Regions from separate parts of the Homo sapiens genome. Here regions 1 and 2 are each linked to region 3. The links are contacts of gene promoters, found by promoter capture Hi-C in human tissues and cell types (Jung and others, 2019). All regions are on one chromosome and are shown on one strand. Each heading gives the region's core, a stretch centred on a gene start or on the middle of the fragment in contact. The rest is flanking DNA. Distances are from core to core; before and after follow the strand shown. Region 1 overlaps LOC124903162. Region 2 holds the start of LINC00332 (long intergenic non-protein coding RNA 332). Region 3 holds the start of MRPS31 (mitochondrial ribosomal protein S31).

Region 1 (3,796 bases), core at 1,293-3,792, 570 kb after region 3:
CTCTGAGCTTCCATATGGGTGTCTCTCTTTCTCTTGCCCACACTTTGAGCCTGCTCTTGGCAAAACCCTGGCCGAGGCACCAGTTTCCTCAGCATTGCTGACTCTTACATGCTGAGCCAGATATCTGGGGTGGCCCACAAAAGCCAGTCTTTCTGTGAGGATGTCATCTGTGGCCTTTGGCCTTGTTCATCTCTTCATTTTTTCATCTAGATTGTATTTGAGTTCCTGTCCCTATGCCATCTACTGTGGGGTGAGTTGGGGGTACAGAGGAGAGACTGTATGACTCGTGTTCTTGTGTTGCTTCAAGTCCAGCAGCAGATCAAGTCTGTCTATGCAGCAGACACAAGGCACCAAATGATCAACATGATTAGAGGTGCTATCTCACCACAGGGATACCTACGTAGGTAGCTTGTTTCATTTGCTGCTAGATCTAATGGTTAAACTGAGCCCAACTCTCCCTTTCTGTGAGTTTTAGTCATTTTTCCAGATTCCTTTCTCTGGAGCCGCACACACACCCTAGCCTTTCAGAATGAGGGCTTTTTGGATATGTGAAGATGACTATCTTTCTTCCATTACCTTCTCTTCCAAGGCTAATAGTAGTTTCCTAATTCTCACCTGTTTCACCCATGTCATTGGGTCCAGACCTGTCCCTGTTTTAATTGCTCCCTTCTGAATATATTCCTGCTTCTCAATGTTCTTATTGAGTGGGAAATCTAGAACAAAATACAGTATTCTGAGTTTATCTGGAGAGAAAAGTCAGAAATATAAATAAATGAAGAATAATAAAAATAATAAAAAGGAGCTTTGGTGTGTGTGTGTGTGTGTGTGTGTGTGTGTGTGTCTGTTTAACACATGGGTAGAGAGATGGAACATGTTTTTATTTCTAATTTTACATAATGCAAATTCAGTTCAAAGACTTCTCAGTACAGCATAATTGATTTTGACTTTCTTAGATCATAACATATGATACTTTTATTCTCTGGTGTTTTTATGCTAAGCTCTAAGAAATGTTGATGAAAATACCTGACCTACTTCTCTGGGCAGGTATTGTGGCTATCAGGCTGTCAAGTCAATCTCAACTTCCACTCGACCTTCCTCCTGTGGTCATGGCCTTAGCACCTTGGGTGGTGGATCCTCCACAATGTGTCCATTTCTAAGTAGCTCCTTAATCTAGTCATATATATGGCTTTCTTTCCATATCAAAGCTATAACCAAGACCTGCTTTGATGGAGACAGCTCTTGAGAAGACTGGCATAGATTATTCATTGAGTAGCTTCAGGGTTGGCCACTCTATCCATAGTCTCTGTGACTAGTGCTCAACCTGAGGAGTTCATTCCTTTCATATTCTAAGGAATGCACAACCTGTGCAACCACATGTGGCACCTGAATGCAGATTGCCTGTGATGTCTGCATTTAAAGCACAGACCAAGAATCCCATTTCTAATCTGTCTTGGGAGACACTGTTGATATTTCCAAATTTCTGGGTTGTAGGTATAGTAGATTGGCATTTGGCATTTATTCCAACTCTGTATCTCCCAGAATCCCTTGCAGCTAGAGTCATGGAAGCGAAGAAGTTTCCACAATTAGATGTGCCTATGCAAGATTTGAAAAGAGGAAATGTGACAAAAGGGCAGAGTTCTGCAGCTTTGACTACTTTTGCTGGCATGCAAGGTCTTGAAGATGCTGTGCTTTCCTGCAGCCAAATTCTACTGTATAGCCACAAGCTTCATGTGAGTAGAGAAGCAATTGTAGCAGCATGTTGGTAGTTTCTGTATCTCACAGCTCCAGGTTGTGTTCTGGAAGTCAACCATTCCTGTGGCACCCCACCTTCTAACTGGGGTAGAGGGAGCAGCTGCCTTGAAGGCTGGTTCACAGTGTCGTACTGGAAGGCATTCCTGGATCCAACCTTTAGCCTACCCTTCCAGCCCGTCCAATAGTTGTATGAACACTGAATTTCCTGTACTAAATCCCTTTCAGTTTAAAATAGCTAAAATCATTTCTGTTTTCCACCACTGAGTTCTGACAGATAGATTTATCAAAGGCAGCATAAAAAAGGTGATTTCAACTCTTTTTTACCTCAATTAAAAAGTGTTTTGTGACTGTTGCTAATAACTTCATCTCAAGAGCACTGTAAGGACTTGAGTTCTAGTCCTGTCTCTGCTGCCCATATGTTTGTGTGTGTGACCTTGAATAAGTCACTTCAGCCTTCAAAGTTCTTTTCCTTATCTATCAAACTGGGCACATAATGCCTGCTTTGTATGTGTGCCCATAAGTGGAGAGAATGTGAATGAAAGTGGGCTTTGGGCAATAAAATGTGACTGCTGTCTTTTTGCCTTAATATAATATAGTCTCCCTATGAAATCCTATCTCTTCCTCAAGGAAAGTACTAGTTAGAAAATGTCTATTCATCACAAAGTGAGAAATAAATAAAATAACCTGTCTTACATGTTGTTCAGGATTTTCTATGGCTATTGTGTTTGTCCATTTTGCTTTGCTGTAAAGGAATACCTGAGGCTGGGTAACTTATAGGGAAAAGAGGTTTATCTGGTTTACGGTTCTGCAGGCTGCCCGGGAAGCATGGTGTTCACATCTGCTTCTGGTCAGGACCTTGGGAAGTTTTTACTCAGGGTGGGAGACAAGGGGAGCTGGCATGTCACATGGCAAGAGAGGAAGTAAGAGAAAAGGAGGAGCTGTCAGGCTTTTCTTAACAGTCAGATCTTTCATGGACTAACAGAGCAAGAACTCATTACCGTAAGGGATGTGCCAAGCCATTAATGAAGGATCCACGCCCATGATAAAAACAACCTCCCACCAGGCCTCATCTCCAACCTTGGTGGATCACATTTCACATGAAATTTGGAGAGGACAAATATCCAAATCATATCAACTATTTTCAAACCAAATGTCCTGAGACACTCTGGAGAGAGAGTTGACATACCTGCAGGCATTTATAAATGAAGAGATAGATAGTGAGGTCAGTCAAGGGACCTTTGAAAGTCAGACAACTATCAAGATAAACATTAATATTATTTACCATGTCAATTTAATGGCTTACCAACAGATCTTGTGGAAAAAAGAGTCAGTTTATAACATCAAATAATACCATGTTGATGGCAAACCATTCATCCCCCTAGTTAATATATGTTGAATATTTGCAATGTGCAAAGTTTTCAGTTAGACATTGGGGCCCTATGCTAGATGTTAAAATAAGTATATTAGGGGAAATGTTACCGTATGTAAATTATACATCAGTTAACGTGACTAAAAAGAAGACACAAAAGTACGTCTCATAATAGGTATTCATTTTCCATCCTTAACAAAGCCTGTTTGTCGTGAATAACAGACTCACTGCACAATGTGCTATAATTCATGTCTCTGTAGAGGTCATTGCTCTTTGCCACACCCATGCCTGCCCTCATGCCACTGTTCCTCTTCATGGAAATCCCTTTCCCATCCATCTCTGCCTACCCAATTCTCAGCTCCTTTTGGGCCCTCGTCAAAGAAAATCACATACTCTGAGAAAGCTTTCCTGATTCTCTTTAGCCTAAATTAATCCCTCTCTGCTATCATAGTCCTTCATATATAGTATATGCTTTTTAGTATATAGTATATACTTTTCTAGTATATACTTTTTCTGTCTCATACGATTTTTTGTATTATTTTCCAGTTATCTAGATACATAAATATAAAATATTTATGTTTGCTATTTTAATTAATAGAATTTGGCATATTATAGTAGTAGATGGTTAATTAAGTTTGCTGAATTCAATTTTGAATGGATCTTACATCTATTTCA
Region 2 (3,409 bases), core at 212-2,711, 590 kb after region 3:
ATATAAAATGAGGGGTGATTGTTTCTATTTCCATAGATTTTTTCAGATTTGCTGCAGGATTGTTTTAACCGAATATTCATCATAATTTACTTCTCCTTTTTTTTTTCTGCACACAAATTTTAGGGATAGATTTAGCAAATAAAACAAATATATATAATTACCCATTCGTTGAATCAGCATGTCTCTTGTAACTCTGTTCTTTGACTAGTTAGGTGTCACTTTTTCAGCTGTTGCTTTAAAAAACACTGATACCAGGCAGGTCTTCGTGACCCTACCAGATTGACAACCAAGGACTATTGTGGTGTTTACATTTCTTGGGTAAGTACAGCTTATCTGCCTCACATGCTGTGGGTGTAGGATTCTGGAACATAATCTAATATATGACTCAGCATTGTTAAGCACTGAAGGACTTCATGTGTCCATGGCTAGTTAGACGCATGCTTGCCACACATGGCCTCACCACATGTAGTAGCTTCCCACCTTGGCTAAACTCTCTCTCTTCTGCTTTTCTCAGAAATATGTTTCCAGACTTCTCAGTGAGAATGGCATTTGGGTACCTGTTATATTTCTAGTTGGCCATCCCTGAGTCACCAGGGTATGCCAAAGCATCACAGGGCCTTTTATTGTGATGTTAGACTGAATGTGATCGACGTGATAGACTGAATCATATCTCCCAAAATTGGTATGTTGAAGTCTTAAGCCCCAGTGTGACTATATCTGGAGATGGGGCCTTCAGGAGATAATAAAGCTTAAATGAGGTCATAAGAATGGGCCTCTAATCCAATAAGACTATGGTCTTACAGGAAGAGGCAGAGAGAGCTCTCTTTCTCTCTTTCTGCCATGTGAAGACACAATGAGAAGGTATAGTCTTCAAGTCAGGAGGGAGTCTGCACTAGAATCCAACCATGCTGGCACCCTGATCTTGGACCGCCAGTCTCCAGACCTGTGAACAAATGAATTTCTGTTGTTTAAGCCAGCCAGTCTATAGTATGTTGTTATAGAATCCTGAAAAGACTATTACACATATAAAACCTGGTAAAAAGAAATTGCTGAGAGGGCAATTTCTTCTAACTGAAAATACCTTGCCTCTTTCTATTCTGTCTTTGGAAATATTATTCCCTGTTTCTTCTATGGTGTTATGACTACTCATGGAAATACTAACAATTCTTATACTAATATATAACATTTACTGAGCTCTCACTATGGCCCAAGCACTGCTTGTACCATAAGTGATTACACAGTCTTTGGTATATAAGCCAGACACTGGTCTAAATTATTTTAAAATGTTAATTTTTATAACAACTCAGGTTGTTAATATTATCACCCCCATTTTACATGGGGTAACCGATGTTAAAAAAAAAAGGTTGTTTTGCCAAGGTTATTAATAAGCAAGCTGCAGAGCTCAGATTTGGACCAGGAAAGTCTGGTTTCAGAGTTCATACTGTTAACCCTTCTGTTATCTTGCCTATGAAAAGTTTGTTATAGCTCTTAAACCACACCACAGTCCTACAAGGCAGATGTTATTCATTTCCTTATTTTGCTGATGGAGAAACTGAGGCACAGAATGGCCATGTAATTTTCCCAGCATCAGACAGTCCAACCTGAGCCAGATAATTCTAGAGGCTTCCAGCCTTTTCTCCTCTGTGGGTCACCTCAAGATGACAAGGCTGGAGGCTGACTGTCTTCTGCAGGTGGTATTTAAGAAGAACTTCCATGCAAAGGGTCGAGGTGGTTAACAGCTACTGAAGAAGGGGGTGTGTGTTTGAGAGAAGCAGACAGAGATTTGTGATATTTTCCAGGCTGCAGGTACCAGATCTATGCCCTACTGAGTTCCATATGCTTTACCCAGGAACTACCATCTCAGAGGCAGTGAGAGAATTAAAATCTCTGGGCTCTGACTGTCAGATTCCATGTGTTCAGGAGTCAAAGCTTCATCTGGAGCTGGAACAACTTCTCTGGTTCAAAGTCTGCAGTGCACCTGCAGATTTCCCATTAAATTGCCTGCTGAATCAGGAATAATGATTCTCAGGGGGAAGAGATATTATTTGCATTTGAATTAATGTTGACTTTGGAGTCACAGATTCCTCATCAAGAAGGATTTAGAGCAATTGCTGATATCCTGGGGATCTGTGACCAGCTCATTATTTTCATCTCACAGGGTAGTACTAGAATTTTTAATTTTTTTTCAAGTCTTCTTTCGAAAGTTTGGCTCTCTTTATCCCCATGATCATAATTATAATAATTTTGAAACATCAGTCTGCTCAGATATCAAGGTGTTGAACGGATAATTTCACTTTAATGAATTTGTCTCATATGGGCTTATTTTCCACATCTGTCCTAAGCTGAATAGCTAACTGGTTAATATGAGAACTGTTCCGTCTCATTAGCTTCTCCCTGTTGATTTCCTTGAGGTGGAACTGATGCATTGCCAGTTGCAAGCTCTGTCAGCTCTTTCCTTTTAGGCAAAGCACACATCTAAATTCTATTCTAAGGCACTGATGCCAACTAAGAAGAATAAAAAATGAAATAGTTTGATCATCCAGATAAACTGCAGGATTCTATATACCCAGTGGCTTCTGAGAGATTAGCAAGTACTTGTTACAAACGTCATAAACCCTTGTACCTGAGGCCGTGGTGGGTAAATTGTACAAGTAAGGCCACAAAGCCCTGGCAGGGATGGGTGTGGGCTGAGGAGTAGAGAGTGAGAAAGAGGTTTGACTGGTGAACTCCAGAAGGGAGAGGACAGAGAAAAAGAAGGAAACAGAGTGGCAGTGGACCCAGGAGGCCTTGGTGAAGGTCTTGAGTTGGAGTATAAAATCTCCAACCTTTCAGCACTTTGAGAGGCCGAGGCAGATGGATCACCTGAGGTCAGGAGTTCAAGACCAGCCTGGCTAACGTGGTGAAACCCTGTCTCTACTAAAAATACAAAAAATTAGCCGGGCATGGTGGCAGGCGCCTGTAATCCCAGCTACTCAGGAGGCTGATGCAGAAGAATTGCTTGAATGTGGGAGGCAGAGGTTGCAGTGAGCCGAGATCACACCGTTGCACTCCAGCCTGGGCAACAAGAGCAAAACTCTGTCTAAAAACTCTGTCTTGATTGTTCCAGTAGCTAGGAGGGTATTTTGGGAAGGAGTTTAAGGTGAATGAAACTGTTAGTGGATTACTTAGCCTCCTGGAGAGAGAGGGGTGGTGCCTCCTTCATGGGGCCCTAAGTTCAGCTAAGATGGATAAATAATCAGTTAGGATGCTCTGTCTCTAAGTGAGATGATGACAAACAAGAAAGAGGTGGATCACCTCTCACAGCAAGAACCAGAGTGCACTTAAGGACTAGATCATTCCATGACTCTGTTCACAAGGACCCAGGTTCTTTCTGTCGTTCTGCTCTGATGTCCTTGGCAGTGTTTTCATT
Region 3 (3,307 bases), core at 486-2,985:
TTTTAACCCTATAAGGAAGGTAACTTTGAAATGACCAATCTGATTTTTGTTCCCTGTTTCTATTTTCTTCAACTCTTTTGTGCTTGTAAAGCCAAACCCCTCTGCTCAACTCACTGGAACACTATTCTAGAATCACAAATAAAAACCAATTATGCTAAATTTGCCATAATTTTGTTTTTTGACAAAGTTATGCTTTAATTTTTGTTTGTTTTTTTACAAATCAGACAAAGTAAGCATCCCCAAGTGTACTGTGTAGAGCATTCAGTCACAAAGGTTCTGTTAGTGTTAGTGGATCTCAGGAAGATCTGCTCAATGTAAGCTGTGTTTTAGTATCACAAAAACTCACCTCCCCACCTTGATTATTTTTTGAGAGGACAGGGAAAATGTTGATGTAAACTTTGGAATGCCTTTATGGAATTTTAGGCTAGTGGTTCCCATGTGTCCTATTAGCCAACATTTCCCACCAGATTTATTCTCATCCCCTTCCAAGTTTGGGAACCCCACATCTCTTCTGGGGTCACAGTTCCCTGTTTCATGAGGGACAGGTAAAAGCCAAGTCTCTCTCTTGCATCTTTTCATCCTTTTTTTTTTTTGAGACGGGGTCTCACTCTGTTGCCCAGGCTGGAGTGCAGTGGCACAATCTTGGCTCACTGCAGCTTCCGCCTCCCGGGTTCAAGCTATTCTCCTGCCTCAGCCTCCCGAGTAGCTGGGATTATAGGCACTCGCCACCACGCCAGGTTAATTTTTGCATTTTTAGTAGAGTCAGGGTTTCACTATGTTGACCAGGCTGGTCTTCACCCCTGGCCTCAAGTGATCTGCCCGCCTCGGCTTCCGTAAGTACTGGGATTACAGGTATGAGCCACTGTGCCCCCGGCGTAAATCTTTTTTTCTTTTCTTTTTTGTTTTTTTGAGACAAAGAATCTCGCCCTGTAGCCCAAGCTGGAGTGCAATGGCGCGATCTCGGCTCACTGCAGCCCCCACCTCCCGAGTTCAAGCGCTTCTCCTGCCTCAGCCTCCCCAGTAGCTGGGATTACAGGCGCCCGCCACCACGGCCGGCTAATTGTGTGTGTGTGTGTGTGTGTGTGTTTGTATTTTTTTTTTTTTTTTTTTTTTTTAGTAGAGATGGGGTTTCACCATGTTGGCCAGGCTGGTCTCGCACCCGTGACCTCAAGTGACCCACCCGCCTCGGCCTCCCAAAGTGCTGGGATTACAGGCGTGAGCCACCGTGCCCGGCCATAAAGCTATTTTTGAAAAATGAAACCTATGTCTCATTTTGACTCTACATCAAAAATAAAGACTGAAAGGAAACGCTAATTCATAGGGCAGCAGGTCTTTTAGTAATTTTTTTTAAACCTCTTTGGTGGCCATGGCGCATTTTGAGAACGTGGTGAACGCTGTAGACCCTTCCCCTCCAAACATCGCAAAATATTGTCTGTTAAAGAAGAGACTGATCTCACTGGCACCATCTGTAGTTTTTGCACAACTGGTCACGCCCTCCACTGTCGGGTTCGCCGGTCTGGGACCCGCCTCGGCCAGCGAACCTTTGCTGAACTCTGGCGAGGACTCCGCCTCTAGGACTACAATCGCGGGGTGGGTCGGGTCGCTTGGAGGCAACTGGCTCCGCCCGGCCGCGGGCGAGTCCGGAACACAGTTACCCGCCCCTGTAGCCCACCGGAGCGCAAAGGGGGAGGAAGGCGCCAGGCCGGAAGCGGAAGAGAGGGCGGGGACGTGTTTGGCAGCGGGACGCACCATTTCAGTTGTGTTCTTGGTTCATTTCGTGTCTCGGCGATGTTTCCTAGAGTCTCGACGTTCCTACCTCTTCGCCCCCTTTCCCGCCACCCTTTGTCCTCTGGAAGCCCGGAGACATCAGCGGCTGCGATTATGCTACTCACTGTTCGGCACGGAACAGTCAGGTACCGCAGTTCAGCGCTGTTGGCCCGGTAGGTCCTCAGGCAACCCCGTGCCCCGTCCTGTACATCCTCCGACTTCCTGGGGTCGATGTTACCACCTGCTGGGTCTTAGAAGCTATTGCTTTAAATCTGAGGAAAGAGAAATCCCAGAAAGAAAAGATGACTTGCCCAAGGTCATAGTGTGCGTGAAAACAGAGCTACGATTACAAACCTGGTCGCTGTGCTCTACTACACGCCGCGCCTCATTCCTCTTGTCATCATCTCCTGTCAGTTTACCCAGGTTTTTATCTTTTGCCTCCCAAGATTTATTTGATAGTCTCATTTGTTTTCCTTCATTTATTCTTTAGTTCATTACTGAAAAACTCGAAAAACAGCGTGCCAGTACTGGTTGTAAACCCCAAGTGAGACAGTCCTGCCATCACGGAGCGTGTAGTTCCAGAAAGTAGACAATTCAAGTGCTATGTAGTGAAGTAATAGCTGAGATAGTGTAGGTAAACAGAGTACACTATTCAGCCAACATGAATGAGTACTTGCTGGGATAGCAAATAGGGACACCTAACCATTATAGGGGAGACTCAGGATATCGTTTCTGGAAAAGTCTGACGAAATCTGAAGGAGGACCACTGGTTGAAGTTAGCCAGGAAAAAAGGGAATTGTGGCATACTTGGTTTTGGTATTTATCCTCCGAGAACTTTATTATGAAAACCTAATTCCGCTGCATAAATTCCATGCGTAACACTCAGAAGGCAGTTTGGTTAAGTACAGTGCTGAAGCAGGTTAGTAGCAGTGAAGATGGGAAGGACCAGCTGAATGGAGGAGAAAAATTGCACAGGTAGAATTAAAGGGATGTGACGTCATGGGATAATGGTAGGGTAGTCAGAGATAGCAAAAATTTCAACTGGCTGCGTTGGAGTATTAGGGTATCCTTAATGTTAACAGAAGAATGCGGAGCCAGGCTTGAGAAAGATTTTTCCATATATTATAATTTTTAGAAAACAACAAATACCTGTTTATGTTAGGGGGCCTTTTAATATAGAAAGTGTGAAAAATGGAAAGTCAGTCTGAAAGAGGAGTCTTGAATGTGGTGTTGAAGGTGTTGCATTTGAAGTACTGATGAGCTGCTGTCAGTGGAAACAAACTCAGGTGGGAGGTTAGGTCGAGAGGTTTATTATTTTTAGTGCTAGGGAGTTACTTAGACGTGATTTTCCTATAATGTAGATTGTTTTCTGTGGTATGATAGCAGTCTTGAAAGAAAACATTGTAGTAAAGATTACATGTGAGATTCATTCCCCTGATTACCACTTTTCTATTAAAATACCTTGAATAGTAACTTTAAATGTAAAATAATGACCATTTTCTTAAATAGATTGTACCATATATTGAATATTATAATGAGA

What was found. The method cuts DNA at HindIII sites, captures the fragments that hold promoters and counts their contacts. A contact is called where the count stands out against the background at its distance.
Region 1: a fragment that was not itself captured here is called in contact with the fragment with the promoter of MRPS31 in region 3 in 1 of the 25 tissues and cell types used here (mesendoderm cells).
Region 2: a contact is called between a fragment that was not itself captured here and the fragment with the promoter of MRPS31 in region 3, in 2 of the 25 tissues and cell types used here (H1 embryonic stem cells and dorsolateral prefrontal cortex).

Annotation. Positions count from the first base shown.
Region 1 is chr13:40,202,262-40,206,057 of GRCh38, reverse strand. The region is part of intron 1 of LOC124903162; the gene reads left to right. It overlaps LINC00548 (long intergenic non-protein coding RNA 548), which reads left to right. Exons shown (of 6, transcript NR_033877.1): 3 at 1,540-1,730. Among named protein-coding and RNA genes, the nearest start is that of LINC00548, 16 kb to the left of the region's middle. The HindIII fragment of the contact is 4,294 bases long and covers 396-3,796 here.
Region 2 is chr13:40,178,615-40,182,023 of GRCh38, reverse strand. The region is part of intron 1 of LOC124903162; the gene reads left to right. It overlaps LINC00332 (long intergenic non-protein coding RNA 332), which reads right to left and starts at 215. Exons shown (of 4, transcript NR_046870.1): 1 at 162-215. The HindIII fragment of the contact is 5,128 bases long and covers 1-3,409 here.
Region 3 is chr13:40,769,618-40,772,924 of GRCh38, reverse strand. MRPS31 (mitochondrial ribosomal protein S31) reads left to right here and starts at 1,735. Exons shown (of 7, transcript NM_005830.4): 1 at 1,735-1,940. The coding sequence starts at 1,789. RefSeq lists an enhancer at 1,677-1,846. The HindIII fragment of the contact is 6,562 bases long and covers 1-3,307 here.